3 separate regions of the Homo sapiens genome follow, and regions 1 and 2 are each linked to region 3. Evidence: promoter capture Hi-C in human tissues and cell types (Jung and others, 2019). All regions are on one chromosome and are shown on one strand. Each heading gives the region's core, a stretch centred on a gene start or on the middle of the fragment in contact. The rest is flanking DNA. Distances are from core to core; before and after follow the strand shown.

The links. Contacts are between HindIII fragments. The study calls those that stand out against the background at their distance.
Region 1: a fragment that was not itself captured here is called in contact with the fragment with the promoter of FMOD in region 3 in 1 of the 25 tissues and cell types used here (H1 embryonic stem cells).
Region 2: a contact is called between a fragment that was not itself captured here and the fragment with the promoter of FMOD in region 3, in 2 of the 25 tissues and cell types used here (heart right atrium and mesenchymal stem cells).

Annotation. Positions count from the first base shown.
Region 1 is chr1:203,652,532-203,655,231 of GRCh38, reverse strand. All of the region lies in intron 1 of ATP2B4 (ATPase plasma membrane Ca2+ transporting 4), which reads right to left. Among named protein-coding and RNA genes, the nearest start is that of ATP2B4, 27 kb to the right of the region's middle. The HindIII fragment of the contact is 3,712 bases long and covers 1-2,700 here.
Region 2 is chr1:203,067,693-203,070,392 of GRCh38, reverse strand. PPFIA4 (PPFI scaffold protein A4) reads right to left here. Exons shown (of 30, transcript NM_001304331.2): 26 at 2,601-2,698; 27 at 1,765-1,940. Among named protein-coding and RNA genes, the nearest start is that of MYOPARR, 15 kb to the left of the region's middle. RefSeq lists an enhancer at 877-926. The HindIII fragment of the contact is 8,794 bases long and covers 1-2,700 here.
Region 3 is chr1:203,349,853-203,352,552 of GRCh38, reverse strand. FMOD (fibromodulin) reads left to right here and starts at 1,431. Exons shown (of 3, transcript NM_002023.5): 1 at 1,431-1,520. The HindIII fragment of the contact is 7,092 bases long and covers 1-2,700 here.

The sequences.
Region 1 (2,700 bases), core at 78-2,577, 300 kb before region 3:
AAATCCTTTGTCACTTCAACAGTATTTACAGCATCTTCAACAGGAGTAGATTTCATCTCAAGAAACCACTTTCTTTGCTCATTCCTAAAAAGCAACTCCTCATTTGTTCAAGTTTTATCATGAGATGGCAGCAATTCAGTCATATCCTCAGGTTCTACTTCTAATTCTAGTTCTCTTGCTATTTCCACCACATCTACAGTTATTTCCTCCACTGAAATCCTGAGCCCCTCAAAGTCAGCCATGAGGGTTGGAATCAACTTCTTCCAAACTCCTGTTAATGTTGATATTTTGACTTCCTCCATGAATCATGAATATCTTTTTCTTTCCTTTTTTTTTTTTTTTTTCCAGACGAGGTCTCACTCTGTCACCCAGGCTGGAGTGCAGTGGCACAATCATGGCTCACTGCACCCTCGACCTCTCAGGCCCAAACGATCCTCTCACTTCAGCCTCCTGAGTAGCTGAGAGCACAAGAGCACACCACCATGCCTGACTAACTTTTTCACTTTTTGTAGACAGGGTCCCCCTGTGTTGCCAGGCTGGTCTCAAACTCCTAGGCTCAAGTGATCCTCATGCCTCAGCCTCCCAAAATGCTATGATTACAAGCATGAGCCACCATTCCCAGCCCTTGAATGTTCTTAATGGCCTCTAGAATGGTGGATTCTTTCCAGAGGTTTTCAATTCACTTTGCCCAGATCCATCAGAGGAATCATTGTCTATGGCAGCTATAGCTTTACAAAATACATTTCTTAAATGATAAGACTTGAAAGTCAAATTTGTTCCTTGTTCCATGAGCTGCAGAATAGATTTTGTGTTAGCAAGCATGAAAACAACATTCATCTCCTTGTATGTCTCCATCAGAGATCCTGGGTGACCAGGTACATTGTCAATGAGCAGTAGTATTTTGAAAGGAGTAGGTTTCAACAGTGGGCTTAAAATATTTGGTAAACTGGCCGGGCACGGTGGCTCACACCTGTAATCCCAACACTTTGGGAGGCCGAGGTGGGCAGATCACCTGAGGTCAGGAGTTCGAGACCAGCCTGACCAATATGATGCAACCCTGTCTTTACTAAAAACACAAAAATTAGCCAGGCATGGGGGCATGCGCCTGTAATCCCAGCTACTCGGGAGGCTGAGACAGGAGAATTGCTTGAACACGGGAGGCAGACATAGCAGTGAGCTGAGATCGCACAATTGCACTCCAGCCTGGGCAACAAGAGCGAAACTCCATCTCAAAAAAAAAAAAAAATATATATATATATATATATATATATTTGGCAAACCATGCTGTAAATAGATGAGCTGTCATCCAAGCTTTGTTGTTTCTTTGATAGATCACAGGCAGAATAGATTTAGCATAATTATTAAAGGCCCTAGAAGCCTGGCGTGGTGGCTCACGCCTGTAATCCCAACACTTTGTGAGGCCAAGGAGGGCGGGTCACTTGAGGTCAGGAGTTTGAGACCAACCTGGCCAATATGGTGAAACCCCGTCTCTACTAAAAATATAAAAGTTAGCAGGGCGTGGTGGCGGGTGCCTGTAATCCCAGCTACTCAGGAGGCTAAGGCAGAAGAATCACTTGAACCTTGAGGGGTGGAAAATTCATAAAGACCCTAGGATTTTCAGAATGGTAAACATTGACTTTAACTTGAAGTCACCAGCTGCCCTGGCCCCTAATGAGAAAGTCAGCCTGTTCTTTGAAACTTTGAAGCCAGGCATTGACTTCTCCTTTCTAGCTATGAAAGTCGTAGATGGCATCTTTTTCCAAGAGAAGACTGTTTTGCCTACATTAAAATCTGTTGTTTAGCATAGCCACTGTCACCAATTATCTTAGCTAGATCTTCCGACTAACTTGCTGTGGTTTCTATGTCAGCACTTGCTGCTTCACCTTTACGTTGTGGAGACAGCTTCTCTCGTTAAACCTCAAGAACCAAGCTCTGCTAGCTTCTAACTTTTCTTCTGCAGCTTCCTCCCCTCTGTCAACCTTCACAACATTGAAGAGATTTAGGATCTTGCCTTGGATTAGGATTCAACTTAAGGGAATGTTGTGGCTGGTTTGATCTTCTAATCAGACCACTTGAACTTCCTTCCTGTCAGCAAATAAAGCTGTTTTGCTTTTTTATCATTTGTGTGTTAACTGGAGTAGCACTTTTAATTTCCTTCAAGAACATTTTCCTTTATTCACAGCTTGGCTAACTGGTACAAGAGGCCTAGCTTTGGGCCTATCTCAGCTTTCAACACGACTTCCTCAGTAGGCCTAATCATTTCTAGCTTTTGATTTCTAGTGAGAGACCTGTGACTCTTTCTTTCACATGAACACTTAGAGGCCATTGTAGGGTTATTAACTGGCCTACTTTCAATATTGTTGTGTCTTAGGGAATAGGGAATCCCCAGGAGAAAGAGAGAGATGAAGAACAGCTCGTCAGTGAGGCAGTCAGAACATACACATTTGTTGATTGTTTGCTGCCTTATATGGGCACCATTTGTAGCACCCCAAAACAATTCTATTAGTAACACCAAAAAATCACTGATCACAAATCATCATAACACATATAATAATAATGAAAAACTTTGAAACATCATGAGAATTACCAAGATGTGACACAGAGACATGAAATGAGCACATGCTGATAGAAAAATGGCGTCAACAGACTTGCTCAACACAGGGTTGCCGCAAACCTTCAATTTATTTAATAATAAAATAA
Region 2 (2,700 bases), core at 60-2,559, 280 kb after region 3:
CCCAGGCTGGTCTTAAACTCCTGGCCTCAAGCAATCCTCCCACCTTGACCTCCCAAAATGCTGAGCATACAGGCCTGAGCTACCACACCGAGCCATTTTTAACCATTTTAAATGAGGGATTCCGTATTGGGTCACACACTACTTCTCCCAACAGCTAAGCTCAATGACGGGGTCAGGAAATTAAGAAAGGTTAGAAAGCCATAGGGAGGTGTCCCTGCTACTATTTACAGAATTACTGCTATCCTCCAAAACTGAATGCATTAGAGATAGGAAATCAAAGAAAGAGAAAAGTCCATTTCTAGGTAGAAAATATTAAGCGTAGAGTTCCATAAGGACAGTCTGTGCCAGTATTGGGAACATAACATTTTTAGAAATGATCTGAAAGGAGAAGCACAGTAAATTTCAAGTATCCAAATGACACTGCTCCTCTGGGCAGTGAAAGGTGAGGAGGATAGGTGTAAATTTCAGAAGCGTCTCACAAAGAGAGGTGAGTGGGCAGCAAAGTGGCAGACGAGGCTTGCCCGAAGTGGGCAAGTGGAGAGAACGCACTTGGGGGAAAAATCCAGGCTCCTCTTGGAGAATGAAGGGATCTGTCCTATCTATTTTGACTGGTTGGGGTGGGGGCGGGGCGGGGGGGTCACTGCAGAATGCCTACAGGACACAATGGCCCTGTGCACTGCCACCACCCCCAAAAGGCCAACACACTGCCCAGAATTACGAGACAACACAGCCCTACCCTCATTCAAGCCAAAACGTGTCTGCTCCCAGAATAGCCTGTGCAGCTCTGGTGGCTGAATTTCAAAAGAGATCTGACAGCTGCAAACAGTCCAGACAAGGGCAGCTAAAACAATCAGGGGACAGAGGCGAGTCTATATGAGGAAAGCCTAAAAGAATTAAGAACACTCCGTCTGGAGAGACAAAGGCTTGGGCCCAGAGGCAATACAATCAGAGTTTATGAAATCATAAAAGGTGAGAACTAGTTAAATACAAATATCCTTACCAAACCTAAACCATCAAGAGGAGGTAGTTCCTTCCCCAGGGGCCTGACAGGGGCATTTTCAGGACAAATAAAATCAGGAAGTACTCTACACAACAAGCAGTACTTCTAGAATCTATTACCCACAGGAAGTTAGAAAGGCCAAAAATATAAATAGGTTCAAGAGAATTTAGATATATTCTTAGATGACAGCTCCATAAAAATGATGAAATGTAATTTCATGAGATGTTTAATCATTTGAGCTGTTGACAGAGAGCCAAAGCCCTGGTGTGGAGAGGCTCTGGGTTGTGTAATTTGGTATATTTAGCTTTTTTAAGGCTGGGGGCCCAGGAGCAGATCCCTAGGGTGGTAGACAAAGGTGATATGGGCTCTCTGGTCCCTAGGGGCCCTGGGGCTCATTCCCCTCTAAGAAAAGTCAGATCAGAGAAGCAGGATGAAAAGGAAGGCTCAGAGTCTCAGCTATGAAGTGGGGTTAGGAGGAGATAGAGGTACCCAGGGCAGGACGGGGATGCGCATTGTAAGAGCACACTGTGTGCCAGGCCCACGCTAGGTGTGCTCTGTATGTGAAGGCCATGTGTTCCCATGAGGGCTTGCTTATGCACAGCGATCACTTGGAGAATTGAGGACATTGCGATCCCCTCTGGCATAGGCCCTAGAAAAGCTCCCCACCCCCCAAGATACCTAAGCCTTTGTGTATGAGGGAAAGAAAGAGAGCAAGTGAGGGATACAGGGAGAGACTCAAGTTGACTGATTAAAAGGCTGCCCACCTGGGTGTTCTGTGTGGGGATCTGGAGGATCAGGGCCAGTGTGTTGTGGTCGAAGTTCTCGTCCAGGGCCAGCAAGGCTCCATGCACACCACTCTCATGCAGGTTTCCTGCGTAGTCCCGGAGCCCAATAGACTGGACCCAATGAACCACCTGGTCGTTGGTCCAGACTAACACATCTGGAGTGTGGGGGAAGAAAAGGGACGGAAGGAGATACTACGTTTCATCAAGGGCCCTCCAAGGACAGAAGCAGAGCTCCCTAAACCCAGAGCCGCAGTCCACCCTGCTCTCTGACCCCCACTCCATCCCTAAATTTCCATATCTTCTTTCTCTCCTCCCTGGCACCTGGGTGCCTGGGGAACCAACCCCCCACTCACTCCATCCCTGCCAGTTTACAGGACCCGGGGTCAGGCCAACAGGCTCCAAGCTTTCTCCCCAGAACCCTTGCACGGGTCATCCCCCTGACCCAAGCTGGAATGGCCTTCTTATTCTTTCCACCTTCAAGGTCTCCTCTAAGACTTGCATCTCCCATCCAGCCCCATCCAGATCAACAAGTTCCACAGGCACACCAGTCTATAACACCGTCCCAGAGGATTCACTGCATTTGTCCAGTTGGTGGCTGCTATCTGGTATGTGGGGTTGAGGGAGGGGAATTATAGACAACTTGGCATGGACTATGTCTCCTCCATCAGACTGGGAGCTCCCTAAGGTGAGGCTGCATCTTCCTTTTCAGACTGGAAGATTCCCTGAGACACAGAATGCCTCCCCTCCACTTGGCCCAAGGCAGGGACCAGCCAAGCAGGCTGCTCCCGAACCCTCTCCAAGCCTGACGAGCTTACCCTTGATCTCATGCTGGCTCTCCTCTCGCCTCTTCTCCAGCTCCTTCCGGTCATAATTCAGCCTCTTCAGACACATGATGCCATACTGAAGACTGGTTCT
Region 3 (2,700 bases), core at 182-2,681:
GCTGGGTTGGAGCCTCCCTGCTTCCACCCTGGCCTCCCCTTCTCCATACAGCAGCCCCTCCTACATGCTTTTAAAATGTAAATTAGATCCCATGCAAATCAGATCCCATGGCTTCTCCTGCTTGAAACATGTTTTTTTTTTTAAACATTTAGAATAGGCCGGACCGGATGACGCACGCCTGTAATCCCAGCACTTTGGGGCACTGAGGTGGGTGGATCACCTGTGTTTAGGAGTTCAAGACCAGCCTGACCAATATGATGAAACCCTGTCTCTACTAAAAATACAAAAAATTAGCTGGGCGTGGTGGCGTGTGCCTGTAGTCCCAGCTACCCAGGAGGCTGAGGCAGGAGAACGGCTTGAACCTGGGAGGCGGAGGTTGCAGAAAGCAGAGATTGTGCCACTGCACTCCAGCCTGGGCGACACAGCGAGACTCCTTTTCGATCTCCTGACCTCATGATCCTCCTGCCTCGGCCTCCCAAAGTGCTGGGATTACAGGCATGAGCCACCACGCCCAGCTGAGACTCCTTCTCAAACAAACAAACAACAACAACAACAACAAAAACATTTAGAATAAAAACCAAATCACTTCCATCGCCCAAAAGTCCTTTCATGGTACAGCTCCTGCCCAGCTTTCTGATCTTGTCTTTCCCTGGCTGAGGAATTCTATGGCTGTGAAATGGGTAGGACACAGTGAACCTCAGCTATGTGCCAGGTCAGGAGCCTCCCACACATCACCTGATACAGTCCTTGCTACAACCCAGCAAGGTAAGTGTTATTAACTCTGAATTTGTTGTGAGCATTAAGTGGAAGTGGATGATGCTAGTGCATAAGCAGTGATCAGCAAATGCTGGAGTCCCTGCCTTTCCTTTTGTTCCAGTGGTGGAGGTGGGCAGGACCTGTAGCCTAGAAAAGTCTACACTGCTTAGGGATAGAACTGGAACCAGAGCCGGCTGTCCCTTGTCATTCATGCTCCCTTATCCACTAGCCTGATGACCTGTCTATAGGGGGAGCTGAGAAGCGCGAGTTCTCGCTCTCTGGAGGGACATGTGGGTTGCTGAAGGAGTTAAGATGTCTCTTACCAAACCCTGGCCCTCCCCATCCCTGCATCTGCCTTTGTGGCTTTAATGAGAAATCCAGGCGCTTCATAAGAGACTGTACAAATAACTTCTAGGGCGCCACTAACTCATTCAGCAGAAAGGGACCCAGGGCTGCCAATGTTTCAGGGAAGATAAGTGAGTGGAAAAAAGGTGGTTTTTATAGCGTCAGGCGGACCGAAGGATTTGCGTGGTTGAGCGTGAACTCCGCCCCTGCAGCAGAGCTGAAAAAAACCAGGATCCGGGTTCCTCAGCCCCTTTTCACAATATTTGATTAGGAATTTGGGGCGGGACCCTGGTCTGGCACAGGCACGCACACTCTCAGTAGACTCTTTCACTCCTCTCTCTCTTCCTCTCTCACACGTTCTCCAACCCAAGGAGGCCAGACAGAGGGACGTGGTCACTCTCTGAAAAGTTCAACTTGAGGTAAGTATAGTCGTTTTACTTCGGGTTTGTCCCTAGCAGTTCCTTAAAAGAAATAAAGGAAAAGTGGTAGGGGATAGGGGAGATGGGGAGGCAGGGAGGGTTCATTCCTCCTTCTCCACATCTGGGCCATGACCCCAGGGATGCTGGAGAGTGGCAGAGAGGGTGTATAAGGGAGGGGTTCCAGCCCTGTACCTTTCTCTTACAGTTCCTTTATGGGTGCTGAGGGGACCTCCAATTCTCAGGCATGAAAAAGTGAAGGACCCTCTGTCTAGGGAAGCTTCTTCCCTGCTACTCATAAATCCCATCATGCTGGGAGTGTGGGCATTTTGAAGGGTATTCCAAGACCTGGATGTCCCTGCAATCTCTCTTATAGAGGGGTTTGGTACATAAATGCTATTATGGGAGAGGGGGAAACTTTTGTGTAGAATGTGTGTGTGTGTGTGTGTGTGTGTGTGTTTGGAGTGGAAAGGAGAGAATAAAAAGAAGCATTGAGAACTGGCCATGTCCAGGGAGCTGTGGATTGGGGTGGGGATGCAATCCAGGTGAGGGGATGGCCTCTGGCTTGACCTTCTCCACTGATAGGAGGGAGAGATCTTTCTCTAGAGTGGAGAAATGAAAGAACAGCAGTAGCTCCTGAGTAAACTTCCCCCAGCTGATAGTGTGGCAGTCCTGGAAACTTTCGACCTTACAGAAACTCTGAGCACAGGAGGGCCTCTAGCATTATGGGAAACAGTGTAAGACTATGCAACCCTGAAGCAACATTGCTAAGAGATGGGATGGGGTAAGGAGAGGCATAAGCTCCCCATCAAACCCTTTCAGCACCCATGGCTCTAAGAAGAGGCTGAAGTGGGCAGGGTGCACAGCCCCTAGAAAGCTGAGTCTGAAGGGGAAGGTGGCTCTTGTCTGCCAAGGTGCCCAGTCTGAAAGAAGGAGAAACGGAGACAGAGGCTCACTGTGCCAGCCCTCCAGACAGCCACCTTGGTCCTGCAACAGCCCAGGGCTGTGCATGGAAAAATGCTCTGTTGGCAGTGGGCCGCTCCATTCGTCTTCTCTCCTGGCCAGAGCCAGGAACCAGCCAGCTTGCCCAGGCAGTGGGCAGTTGGGTCAGCTTCTCCAAAACACTGTGGCTCTTTGTCTGAGGCCTGAGGCTGCCTGTGGATGAGCCAGGGTGCCTGCTCCT